Linked DNA regions of Homo sapiens: region 2 is linked to region 1. The links are contacts of gene promoters, found by promoter capture Hi-C in blood cells and fetal thymus (Javierre and others, 2016). All regions are on one chromosome and are shown on one strand. The core of a region is centred on a gene start or on the middle of the fragment in contact, and the rest is flanking DNA. Distances in the headings are between cores, read along the strand shown. Region 1 holds the start of REEP1 (receptor accessory protein 1). Region 2 has its middle 27 kb from the start of KDM3A.

Region 1 (6,680 bases), core at 2,401-4,900:
CCTGTCTTGATGCCTGCTGACCTCCGTCCCCAGGGGACAGCAGTAGCCAGCCACTCTGCTTGTCCCCAGGGCCTAGGATTTCCTTCAACACAACCAACCTTCACTCAGTGCATTCAGGTGCCAGATACTTTGTGAAAGACCCATGGCAGGGATAAAGCGGTTGTAAAGGGAAACAAGCCACAATTGCTTTCTTCAAAATGCTCACGGCCAGTAGCAGCAGAGACAACCACGAGCACTGGCTGGCTGTCCCTGGAGGCCATCAGCTTGTTGTGATACCTCTGGTCGGATGGTTGGGACCACACAAAGACAGGAAGACACTCCCTCTCTATCCTCACAACACAGTGATAGGTCTTCCTTACATGTTCTTTGATGTGACAGAGGCTTACAAAACCATGAAAAGATTACTTATACAAAACGTGACTCGCGGATAAAACCATAGGATGCTCCCATACCAGAGGTCTAGGGAGCTTGAAAGAGATGTTTTTCTCAGTGGGGAGTGAAGGTGGAAAAAGCACTGGACTGGACTAAAAATCCAGAGCCTGTTTTCTTCACCAGCTCATCTTGTGTCCCTGAGCAAGGCATATTTCCTCTGCAGTTTTACAGATGAGGGGGAGGACTAGATCAGTTGTTTTTATTAGCAGTAAAACACATATATTTTTCTGAATTGTATTTTATCTAGAACCCCAATATATAAGACAAACAAAAAGGGAACTGCTTGGGTTGAATCAGGGATGAGGAGCCCAGAGCCCATCTGCTCAGGCTGGGTGGCCCTCAGGGAACCCAGTTTGAAAACCACAGGAGTAAATTAAGTCTGAGAGCCCCTCTCATAGGGTTCCCGGGGAGGACAGAAGGAGGGACTCATCATTGATTTAGTGCTCTCCGTGGTGCTTGGCAATTTATATATCAAGTGTCATGGAAATCTTTGCAACAGCAACATGAGGTTAACTAGCTGTGGACTAGCATCTGCTCTGATCTGAGTTGTGAACTGGGATCTTCTGGCAAGAGGCAAAACTGGGATTTGAACCATGGGCGTTCTGACTCCAAACACAGTATTCCTCCCCTTGATAAGAAGTTCCTCAAGGTATGTGGAGTGTAGAATATTGGGCTGAATCAATAATATCCTTGAATTACAAATATATGTACATATATGCAATACAGGAAAATTTCTTGAAGAATATGCCCTCCATCATTATTATTAGTTATCTCTGTGTGGTGGAAATGTGGATGATTTTCAGTTTATCTTTTCTAATTTTCCTGTAATTAACAAATATTGTCTTCATGAAACAGGTATTGCTTATTAAAAATGATGTTCATAACTCATAATCAATATGCTTATGCTAGGTTTCTACAGGGAATTAGGGACTGGGGGATAAGTGGTATCCCTGACCTTTTGGACTTGATAGTGGAAGTAACAATCCCAAATCCCATCAACTCTCCTTGGGCCACATAATGCTGTTCATTTAAATTCTCTGAAGTCTCGGTTCTAGGGAGTGTGGTTGTTTTAGAAAGCAACAGCACATCCCTGAGACACCTCCCAAATATATGCCTCTCCTCTCCACCCCCATCAGTTGCTCATTGTAAAAAAGGGGGAGGAGCCGGGCGTGGTAGCTCACGCCTGTAATCCCAGAACTTTGGGAGGCCGAAGCGGGCGGATCACTAGGTCAGGAGTTCAAGACCAGGCTGGCCAACATGGTGAAACCCCGTCTCTACTAAAAATACAAAAATTAGCTGGGCGTGGTGGCAGGCGCTTGTAATCCCAGCTACTCGGGAGGCTGAGGCAGGAGAATCGCTTGAACCCAGGAGGCGGAGGCTTCAGTGAGCCGAGACTGTGCCACTGCACTCTCCAGCCTGGGCGACAGAGCGAGACTCGGTCTCAAAAAAAAAAAAAAAAAAAGGGCAGGGGTGAGGGAGGTGCTAATAAAACTAATGATAGTCACATGACCCAGTGCTAATAAAACTAATGATAGTCACATGACCCAGGATCAGATGCCCTCACTCCCAGCCCAGCAGGACCTACAGAGAGCCCACCAGCCAGGCCAGCTCAACTCTCCAGCCCCACCCTGAGGGCTTCCCAGAAGCCACTGGCAATATCGATCCCAGAGAGGAAACACCACCCTGAAGGCAAGACAGTGTTGGTCAGGCATGAGGCTGGGCAAGGCGTGTCAGCCACTTTCCTGTATTATTCATGTCGGCTCTGCCAGCAGAAATCTTCTAAATATTTAACATGCCACCTCAAGGTGCAGCGCAAACACCCCGCAGTCAGGAACAGCTGTGGAGAGGCCTTCACGGAATGACTTGGGGGCTGAGAGGCACAGACACTGGCTTTGGGAGGAAAGCCCTGAATGGTGGCGGGAGACAATGCTGAGATCCACTTCGGAAGGGAAAATCAGTAAAGAAGGGAAGGGAGATGGGTGGTGTTTCAAAACGTGGGGAGTGATGGTGCACAATCACTGGGGTCCAGAGCCCCGTGTTCTCAGACAAAGAAAAAGCCCGAGGTGCCTGCCACCCTCCTCCCCGCCTTAGACTCCCCACACCCATTTCAGCCCCTGCTAGCTACAGCAGGTGGCAAATCTGTTCTGACTCAGGCCAGGATGGTTAGGGAAGAACAGGGACTTGGAACAGCCACGTCTATCTCCAAAGGAGAATAAATCCACCGGGGAAGCTCTTCAAACGCCTACAGGTCCTGGGGCTTGAAGGAGAAAATCGGCCCCCACGCCCACCCCCAATGACTTCACACAGACCTCACCCTAGATGACTCTGCGCTCTCCTGCAAGGCCTGGGAGGTGTCATCGCCACCATGCGGGTGGCTGTCACTTGAAAATTTCCCGTGCATTCCTGGAGGTACCTGCCCCTGTCTCTCAATCCCCTGCAAAAGGAGTCGGAGCCGGGGGCTCCAGGCGTTTACTCCAAGATTCACATGCGTCTTCCCATGTCCCAGCTGCCTTTGCCGCTGTCGATGCAGACACCTAAAAAGGAGGATTTTTCCAACCCCACTGGGAGCCCCGCCTCTGCCTCTCCACCCGTTCCGCGCTGACCCTCCAGGCAGCGCCCCTGGTTCGTCTGCGCTGTCCTTTCCACCTGACAAAAGCTGGGGCGGCGGGGCGCGGCGCCGGGCGACCTCACATTTCTGCCAAAGGAGAGAGACGCGTGTCCGCGGTGCGCCCATTCGGGGCCTCTGCAAATCGACCGAGCTGAGGAACAAAGCGGCCAGCGCGCGGCGAGACGCAGCCCCCACGGAACCCCCGAGCGCCCCAGCCCTCGCCGTCCCGGCCCAGCCCCCCGCAAGCGGCCGCCGGCGCCGGCTGCCTCCTGGGCAGCAGCCGCGTCCTGCGCCGCCCGTCCGCCCGCAGGCGTCCTCGGCGGCTACTGTACCTGCTAAATTTAGCTGCGCCGGGTATTAATAGCCCGAGCCACTGGGACCGGGCGCTGTAGGGGCGCGCGCAGCCCGGGGCCGGGGGCGGGGAGGGAGGGGACGGAGGGGCGCGGGGGAGAAGGCCACTTACACCACCAGCCTGGAGATGATCCATGACACCATGGCGGGCAGGCGGGCGGGCGAGGCCCGGGCGGCGCGGCTCGGCTAGGCTGCGGGCGGCGCGGGCTGCTGCGGCGTTCCCGGAACGTCAGTCAGCTCACGGCAGCCGCCGCCAGACTGAGCGCGCCCGCCGCCCTGCCCGGCGTTCGCGCGTTGGCGCAGCCGCGGCACGTTCTGGCGGCGGCGGCGGCGGCCCCAGCCCCCCGGGGCTCGGCGGGCCCGCAGCGATTGGGCGGTGAGCTGGTCAGGGCACCCGCGGGCCCGCCCCGTCCCGCTCGCCCTGGCCCCCGGCTGAAGGCGGGCGCGTCCTGCGCGCTCCCCGGGGCACCGGCCCCGCCAAAGGAACCCTGCAGCGGCCCCGTTTGCAGGGCAGGGACCCGGGTGCTGCCCCACCCTCAGCGTTCCAGCGGAGAAACTGAAGTCCGAACCTGAACCTCGGGAATCTGTCTGCACCTGTCTAGGTGGGATGCTGTCATCCCTCATTCAGCTAGTGCGTTAGCCTCATAAAGGGTTTACCTGGATCCAGACCTAACCTCTTCAGTCTGTCCGTTGCTCAGCACTTTCTGCATAAGAAACAAACCTGGGCGCTTGCCTCCCTACTTAAAATTCTACAGAGTCCCTATATGATCGTGGTACCTGCCTAGAACCGTGTTGCCAAGACCATTCCCCCAAATAGTCCTCTAGCTCTTTTCCCTCCAGGCATCTTGGACTCAAATATTTGCTGTTTCTTCTTCCCTGTCAGTACACGCCACGCCTCATCGTCCTGCCTTGGTTTGATTCAGCTCCTTCTTCTAGGCTGGGCTGAAGGGCTACTTCTTCCTAGGGAAGGCCTTTCCTTGGGGGCTGCTCCGGGCCCTAGGAGGAGACTAGAAGCTGCGACTGCTTAGCACCAGTGCCCCGCTGAGCCACGTTGAACTCTTAGGCAAAAGGGAACTTGTGCACCCTATATAAACGTTTTTATGTATTTTTTAAAATACCGTATTAAATATTATGGTGGTTTTTTTTGTTGTTGTTGTTTTTTTATGAGACAGAGTCTCGCTCTGGGGTGCAGTGGCGCGATCTCGGCTCACTGCAAGCTCCGCCTCCCGGGTTCAAGCGATTCTTCTGCCTCAGCCTCATGAGTAGCTGAGATTACAGGAGTGCGCCACCACGCCCAGCTAATTTTTGTATTTTTAGTAGAGACGGGGTTTCACCATGTTGTCCAGGCTGGTCTCAAACTCCTGACCTCGTGATCCGCCCGCCTTGGCCTCCCAAAGTGCTGGGATTACAGGAGTGAGCCACCTATTATGTATTTTAGTTGCTGAATTTTATGGCACCTCTTAAATGTTGCACCCTCACTGAGCGCCTCACTCTGCTCACCCTAGTCCCGGCCGCAGATAGTACATTATTCTGTTACACTGGAAACGCTTTGTCCTCTACTCCTAGGCTCTGCTGCTGCTTTTCCCACCCTCCAATAGCTTAGGTTCTGCGTGGTGCTCCCAGCGCCCTGTCCTTTGCTGATGATGGTGTCATGTATAATTCAGTGTCAGATGTGAGAAGCGCAGGAGACAGCTTAGTACTCTCAGATGTAGCAGAATCTGTGCGTGCGTGTGCCTGATATAGTCAGAAGAAAGACTTCACGGACAACAAAGGGACTGCAGATGAGACATGCTCTCATATCTCAGGTCTCCAAAGAACCCATAAAATAGCTGTAATGTAGCAGTTTTTTCATGCTGCCTTGACCCAGTTTTGAGGCTCAGGCTGGAGGCTGGTCAGTTCCCCTTCTCCAGCAGTCTATTAACTGCATACCCCCAACCACTTCCGTTAGCAGGCTCTCACACGCGGGACACTATACACCTGTCCAGGGCTAGGCACCAAACAACTAGTTACAGCCCCTGTACTTCAGAACCCGCTGAAATTATCCAAATTAGCCTATCCTATATCTGCTTGCCTTATTTCACTCTTTCCTTCCCTCAGAAACCATGATAAAGATGTTTGTCCACAATTCCCCTCTCTCCCTCTCTCTGTGACAGACCCTGGCCCTGAGTGGACCTGCATGGTGTGCTGTGATCTCTCCAGGAAACTGTGGATATAAAAAGCTCTAAAACTCTTTCTAGCTTCTCTCTCTTGATCTGTGTCTGGCCCCACCATATCTCACTCAAGGTAAGGTTATACGGGTAAAACAATGCTCCACGGGGAAAAGCTTTCCATACTTACTAGGCAAAGAGAACACCAAAGCTAGATCAGGACAGCACCCAGCACAGAGGACCTTCCTGAGACCTCCCTTCCCCTCCATCCATACCCCTCACCTATGCTCCCTGCGTCAGAAAGGCTGTTACCCATCTTGCAGGGGGAGCAGCGGAGGGATGGACTACTGTGGTTCAAAGAGACCCTGTTGGTGGGAAAATAAAGAAGAGGTGACCACATGCTTGTTCCCTACTCCCTATAAGTGGAATTCTCAGATTTGACTATTGCACAGGACTGAGCATTTTAATTACCAAAATGAAACTATTCATGGGGTTAAAATATCTTGAGGTCTTTTCATTAGCTGAAGAGGACCAGAAAACTAGTGAGACCAACACATATTTCTCACAAGGGATGAGAAAGAACTTGTCCATAGAGCGGACTTGGATGGGTAGAGGAGGGAAAAGAAGAAAGAAAGAAAGAAAGTTGCTTTTGTACTGCATTCTGTCTCTTTCAGTGTAACTGTTACACTTATTGTATCTCTCTATCCTGGACCTGCTCTTGTTTGTCCTTGGCCCTGGAAAACATGTGGCCAGGGAACGGACTCCACCTTCTAGACAATGGAACTCTTACAGCTCTATCAGTTTCTTGACTTCAAGTTCTTTTTCATAAGAACTGCTTTGATAATAGATGTCTCTCATCTGTTTTTACCCTGTACCCTTCCCCTTTCTTCTGGGAAGAGCTCTCTGTTTTTCACTGGGGAATGAGTCTCCCCATACTCCAACCTTAGAAACTGTGATTTTCTTATATATCCTCACTACCTTGATTGGCTTATGGGTGATCACCAAACAGAAACTGGGCCAACGATCTCCCTTGGGATTTTTAAAGTTGAAAATAGAAAAAAGAGAATTCCACTTTCTTCTATGAAGCATTGGCTGCTGTGGGAATTGTCCTCCCATTGCAAACAACTAGAAAAACAGGATCA
Region 2 (6,680 bases), core at 2,322-4,821, 77 kb after region 1:
CAAACAATTATACAGAGAGTTACCATATAACTAAGAAATTTCACCTCTAAATATATACACAAGAGAAATGCAAACCTGTGTCTAGACAAACATACAAATTTTTATAGCAGCACTCTTCATAGCAGTCAGAAGGTAGACACAACCCAAATTTCTATCAACTGATGAATGAATAAATAAAATGTGGTATATCCATACAGAGGAATATTATTTGGCCACAAAAAGGAATGAAATACATGCTACAACATGGATGAATCTTGAAAACATTATGCTAAGTGAAAGATGCCAGTCTTAAAAGACTGCATATTGTGTATGACTCCATTTATATGAAATGTTCACAGTAAGGAAATTTACAGTGACAGAAAGTAGATTAGTGGTTGCTTAGGGCTGGAAGGGATGGAGTATAGGGAGGTGATAATTAAGGGTACAGGGTTTCTTTTTGATGTGATGAAAATCTTCTAAAATTAATAGTGGTGATTGTTGCATATGTCTGTAAATATACTAAAACCATTAAAGTGTATCCTTTTAAATGGGTGAATTGTATGGTATATGTATATCTCAATAAAGATGTCTTTAAAAAGCCGGCTGGGTACGGTGACTCACGCCTGTAATCCCAGCACTTTGGGAGGCCGAGGTGGGCAGATCACAAGGTCAAGAGATCGACACCATCCTGGCCAACATGGTGAAACCCCGTCTCTAATAAAAATACAAAAAATTAGCTGGGCATGGTGATGCGTCCTTGTAGTCCCAGCTACTGGGGAGGCTGAGGCAGGAAGATCGCTTGAACCAGGGAGGTGGAGGCTGCAGTGAGCCGAGATCGCGCCACTGCACTCCAGCCTGGAGACAGAGTGAGACCCTGTCTCAAAAAAAAAAAAAAAAAAAAAAAAAGCCAGCTTCCTGACTCAAGGCAGGATCAGCACTGTAGTACAATTCACACTTCAGAGGTTCCTGAGTGGTCAGGCTGCTCAGGCTGAGACCACATCCTTGCCTAGCTCCTTCTCCCTGTTATCTAGCTTCCTCATTCCCTCTCTTCTGACGGCGTGGCCTTAACAAATCACATGCCCTCAATAATTCCATCTCAGGTTCCGCTTCCAGGGAACTTGATGATTGGTATTGAAATCAGTTCTAGGAAGCAGACTCTAAGAATGGAAATTGCTATGACATTCACCTGGGGTGAACTAGGATGGAATATACAGATGGAATACACAGGCTCATATCACCTCTCTGGCATTTGAGAGTACAGGAGTGTATCAGGTATCTATTGCTATGTAACAAATCACCCCTAAACATAATGGCTTAAAAATGATAATTTATTATTTCTGACAATTCCGTCATAAATTCTGTTCCAACGATCGTCATGGCATGGGTTGACTGGCTAATTCTTCTACTCCACATGGTATAGACTGGGGTAGGCGATGAACTGGTAGGTCAGCTGGGCTCAGCTGAAGTTAGTAGTCTATTTTCTTTTCTAAAATAGCCTGCTTGCTTGCTCTTTCTTTCTTTCTCTTTCCTTCTTTCTTCCTCCCTTCCTTTCTTCCTTCCTTCCTTCCTTTCTTCCTTCCTTCCTCTTTCTTTCTTTTCTTTCGTTCTCGTTCTTTCTTTCTTCCTTTCTTTTTCTTTCTTTCTTTCCTTCCTTCTCCTTCCTTCCTTCGTTCCTTTGTTCCTTCCCTCCTTCTTCCTTCTTCTCCCTTTCTTTTCTCTCTCTCTCTCTCTCTCACAGTGGTGTGATCATAGCCCACTGCAGCCTTGAACTCCTGGGTTCAAATAATCCTCCTGCCTCAGCCTCCCAAGTAGCTGGGACTACAAGCATGTGCCACCATGCCCAGTTAATTTAAAAAAAAATTTTTTTTTTTGAGATGGAGTCTCACTCTGCCACCCAGGCTGGAAAGCAGTGGCACAATCTCGGCTCACTGCAACCTCCGCCTCCTGGGTTCAAGTGATTCTCCTGCTTCAGCCTCCTGAGTAGCTGGGACTACAGGCAGCCACCACCACGCCTGGGTAATTTTTTTTGTATTTTTAGTAGAGATGGGGTTTCACCATGTTGGTCAGGCTGGTCTCAAACTCCTGACCTCAAATGATCTGCTGGCCTTGGCCTCCCAAAGTGATGGGATTACAGGTGTGAGCCACCACGCCTGGCCTAAAAAAAAATTTGTAGAGAAGGGTTGTCTCACTTTGTTGCTCAGGTCCTGGCTTCAAGTAATCCTTCCACATCAGCCTCCAAAAGAGTTGGGATTACAGGTGTGAGCCATTACACCTGGCCAAAACACAGATGTGTTTTTTTTTAAAAAAAAAAACACAATTGGAGTAAATGATACACATTGTTTTACACTGGCTTTTCCATTTAATAATATGGCCTGACAATCATTCCCTGCTACTTCCTTTCTTTTTCCCTGCTGCATAGTATCCCAGAGTTGTATCATACTTTATTTAACCAGTCTCTTAGTCTTATAGTGAACGTCTTTACATAAGTCACTGAGCATGTGCACATGAGCCTGAGTAGACCAGGAGGACAAAGTCTTTAAGATGGAACTGTAGAGTCAAGGGTAAGTGCTTACTACATTATGATAAATGTTGCCAAATGGTTCCTCCTAGAGTCTCAGCCTCAGTTTTCTCATCTGCAAAGTAGGTTTTAATAAAAGTAACTACTCCAAAGTGATGTTGCAAGGTTTCCACTCAATAATCCATGCCAGTAACATAAGGCAAGAAGATTCCACCCACACAGATGCCAAAAAGAAGATGGATCTTAAGTAAAGCCACCCTTAGAGAAGCTAACGGTTAGAAAAACCTTAGGAAAATTGACCAGTCTGGGAGTTTACTATGGAAATCAAGAGTCATTGGGTCATCCACATCAACAATGAAATCACCTGGGATGATTGCAGAACTACTGTCAAGCAGGAACTAAATTCTTCCTGGAATGTGGATGAGTGAGAATAAGGAGGGAAGGTGATACAAGCCAGTGGAACCAGTCTCTAAGGAGGAGGTGTTTTTACACAAAGGTGGAAAGGTTTGGGTTAAAAAGAGCACTGGCCTTTCCTCTAGGATGAAGAATGAAAATGAACTCCCCAACTCAAGATGCTACAGCAGAAGAGGGTTGCAGTTAAGGCCAGGAGATGAAAGAGGTTGAGGCTAGGAAGACTGGCTTAGCAGAGAATGCAGTTCCAGAGATGCAACTCATTGGTTCCATACAGAGTTCTGAGGGCTAGTCCTGACCTAGGTTTGGGAGGGGTGGGAACACTAGGAGGGTGGAGAGAAGGAGTGGAAGGACAGCGACAGCGCAGCTCTGGCAAATGAGAGGAGGTCTCCACAGCCGGGAAGTCTCTCGTGTCAGGAAGGGTGATTTATTTCTCTTATTGTTCTTTTCAAGTTTTTTCAGTAGTGCTGAAGAGCATGTGAAATCTATTAAGAAAAGCCAGCGAGACAGCTGTAGCCATAGCTGCAAATAAATCTCCCCAGTTTACGATGAGTTTTTCCCGAAGCTTTCAATTTCCCACCAACTTCCTGATAACCATTATGAAAACAAACAGTAAAGAGTCAAATTTAAGAATAGGAAGAAATAGATAAAACTATTAAGATGAAAAGCTATGTTTCTAAGGGGAAAAAGTAAAAAAATAAAAAGAGGAAGGAAAGAATCATGGTTCAAAGGCATGAAACAAATTCAAAACAGAAAAACCAGAAGCTTAATCATTCATCTGGGAAAATTAATGGCACAGTTTAAGTATAAAATTATTTTTAAAAGAATTTAAAATCATATAAAATATGAAAATGAACAGCAACAAAAAGTACCAAAATGACCTTTAAATAAATCCCAAAGCCAGTATGCCATGCTCAGTTAATAAAAGGGAATAAAAGGCAAAGAGCAGAAATTATAAAATAAATAAAAATAAAGAAGCTAAATATAAAGTTCTTTAAATGGCCTATAAAACTAAGCTAAATAATTTAAAACATAAATAATTTTTTAAAAAGACGGAAACAAGTAAAACTAGAAGATCAAAAATATTGAAGATAAAATAGTGATTGCTAAAGTATAGCAGGGTGAAAAAAGAAAAAGATTAAAGAAAGAAAAACAGCCCCCCAAAAACATTAAAAATAAAACAAAATGCTAGAAATAATTGTATGCAATTGTTCAAATTGCATACAAAATAAAAAGTTTAGGAAGAAAACATTCAAAACAGAAATATGAAAAGATTGGAAAGATAAAATTAGAAAATAGCAAAACTTGAAAGGTGAATAAAATAATACAATGTCAGAATAAAAAAACATACTAAGACAACACAAAGGTACAAAGGCAAAAATACTTCAGATTAAATCCTTAATGAGGTACAAAATGCACATGAAAAATATTTAAGGGTGAGTGTTTAAGAAGGAATTTAGGGTTGCAGTAGCCACGACAGGGAACTGAAAGGAGGTCCTGGATGGGGGCAGAGAAAGGGAGCAGGACCCCAGCCCCCACCCCCCAGTGGGAGCCCCCGGAAAGCTTCTCCAGGAAAGGAACCACACTGCAATAATAAGCAGCTGGCAGCCCAAATCTGTCAAAGCAACAGAGCCTGCCAGGAGGCCCCCTCACCCCTTGCATGTGCCCAGCGGCAGCTGCAGCAGTCAATAATCTCTATGGATGACAGGCACCTTTTCACTCTGAGAGTCATAAACAGTACAGGACCTGTAAACACATGCACCAACTTGAAGACACACTAATTCCTCCTTTGTAGCTCCATGCTCTTAGGTAAGTTTCCTAACTTCTCGAAGCCTCAAGTTTCTCATCAGAAAAACAGGAATAATTACACCTATCTTATAAGGCTATTTTGAAGACTCCACAAGATAAAGCTTACAAATTATGTTACAAACCATGAATGAATGACAGTCTTTATTATTTATATTATTCACTTGCTAGAAGAAAAAAAGTTCTTTTTTATTACAGCTATACAGAAAAAAAGACAAAATATTTTTAAGGTGTTAGGATTTTCTTGAGGGGGAACCGAAAAGGCTCAACTGGGATATCTTTTTTTTTTTTGGCTTAAAACACCACAAATTTATTATTTTACAGTTCTGGAGCTCAGAATGTTTAAAGTCAAGGTGGCAACAGAGCTGTGTTCCTGTTGGAGACTCAAGGGGAGAATCCATTTCCTTGTCTCTTCCAGCTTTCAATGCCACCTGCATTCCTTGGTTTTTGACCTCTTGCCCCCATCTTCAAAGTCAGCAGCATCTTCAACCCTCCCCCTCCCTTTCTTTCTCTTCCATGACTCCCATTTCCATTATCACATCTCCTTCTGAATCTATCTTTCTGAATCTGAAAAAAGACTTTTGTGATTATATCAGGCCCACTTGGATAATCCAGGTTAATCTTCCCATTTCAAAATCCTTAACTTATACACATCTGCAAAGTCTCTTTTGCATGTAAGGTGACACATTCACAGGTTCCAAGGATTAGGATATAGACATCTTTAGGGTATCATTATTCTGTCTACCACATCCCCTGAAAGGATTAGCCTAGTATCCATTGAAATGTGCATAGGTTTAAGCCCTAACTCTTAGTAGGGGCAAATTATTCAGATCTGGCTCTGAAGACCATCTAGACATCAGACCTCTGCAGTTAAGATTGTTGCTCCAGATCCTTGATCCTTATGCAAAAGGAGCCCAGCACTGAGTCCGGTGGCAAACAGAATCTTCCTCAAAAAGTGCCAGGGGGAGGAGGACTGGAGGCCCAGTGGTTTGTGGTGAAAGCCAAGGGGGCAATGTGCCCTAGACATGTTACCATCCCTGCCCAACAGGAAGTCACAAGGAAGGTAAAAAAGGAAGGAAAACTGGTCAGAAGGAGAAAGAACTCAACCAGCTTTCTACACTTTCTCAGCTCCATTTGAATAGGCTGCATGTGTGTGCGTGTGTGTATGGTGAAATTCACATAACATAAAATTCACCATCTCAATTATTTTAAAGTATACAGTTCAGTGCTGTTAGTACCTTCACAATGCTGTGCAACCACCACCACTGTCTAGTTCCAGAACATTTTCATCACAACCCCCTATGAAATCCCTATATCCACTAAGCTGTCACTCCCCATTGCCCACTCCTTCCAACCCCTAGCCACCATTAATCTTCCTTCTGTCTCTTTGGAATGTCATATTCTGAATATTTCATATAAATTGAATCACACAACATGTGGCTTTGTGTCTGATTTCTTTCACTTAGCCTACTGTTTTCAAGGTCCATCCCTGTCGTAGCACGTGTCAGTACTTTATTACCTCTTATGGCCTAAGGATATTCCATTGTATGGATATAGTGAATTTTGTTTATCCGTTCATTAGTTGACGAACATTTGGGTTGGTTCTACCTTTTGGCTGCTGTGAATAGTGCTGCTTATAAATATTTGTGTATAATTTTTCATTTTGTTTATTCGTTCACTAGTTGATGAACATTTGGGTTGTTTCTACCTTTTGGCTATTGTGAATAGTGCTGCTTATAAATATTTGTGTATAATTTTTCATTCAAGTACCGGTTTTCATTTCTTTTGAGAATGTAACTAGAAGTGGAATTGCTGGGCCATATGGTAAACATATGTTTTTAATAGACCATCTTTAAAAAATACTACATAAATAAAACAATTTTTAAAAATTATTATTATATTCTATTAGTAAGAAAGAGCTCTCAAGCAACCATGAGAAAGGAAAAGAAAGAGAAAAAAACAAAAC

Evidence for each region. Contacts are between HindIII fragments. The CHiCAGO score rates a contact against its expected background, and 5 or more counts as called.
Region 2: a contact is called between a fragment that was not itself captured here and the fragment with the promoter of REEP1 in region 1, in 1 of 17 cell types (total CD8 T cells). The highest score is 5.7, in total CD8 T cells.

Annotation. Positions count from the first base shown.
Region 1 is chr2:86,333,976-86,340,655 of GRCh38, forward strand. REEP1 (receptor accessory protein 1) reads right to left here and starts at 3,651. Exons shown (of 9, transcript NM_001371279.1): 1 at 3,504-3,651. The coding sequence starts at 3,535. The HindIII fragment of the contact is 12,312 bases long and covers 1-5,712 here.
Region 2 is chr2:86,410,593-86,417,272 of GRCh38, forward strand. No RefSeq gene overlaps it. Among named protein-coding and RNA genes, the nearest start is that of KDM3A, 27 kb to the right of the region's middle. The HindIII fragment of the contact is 200 bases long and covers 3,472-3,671 here.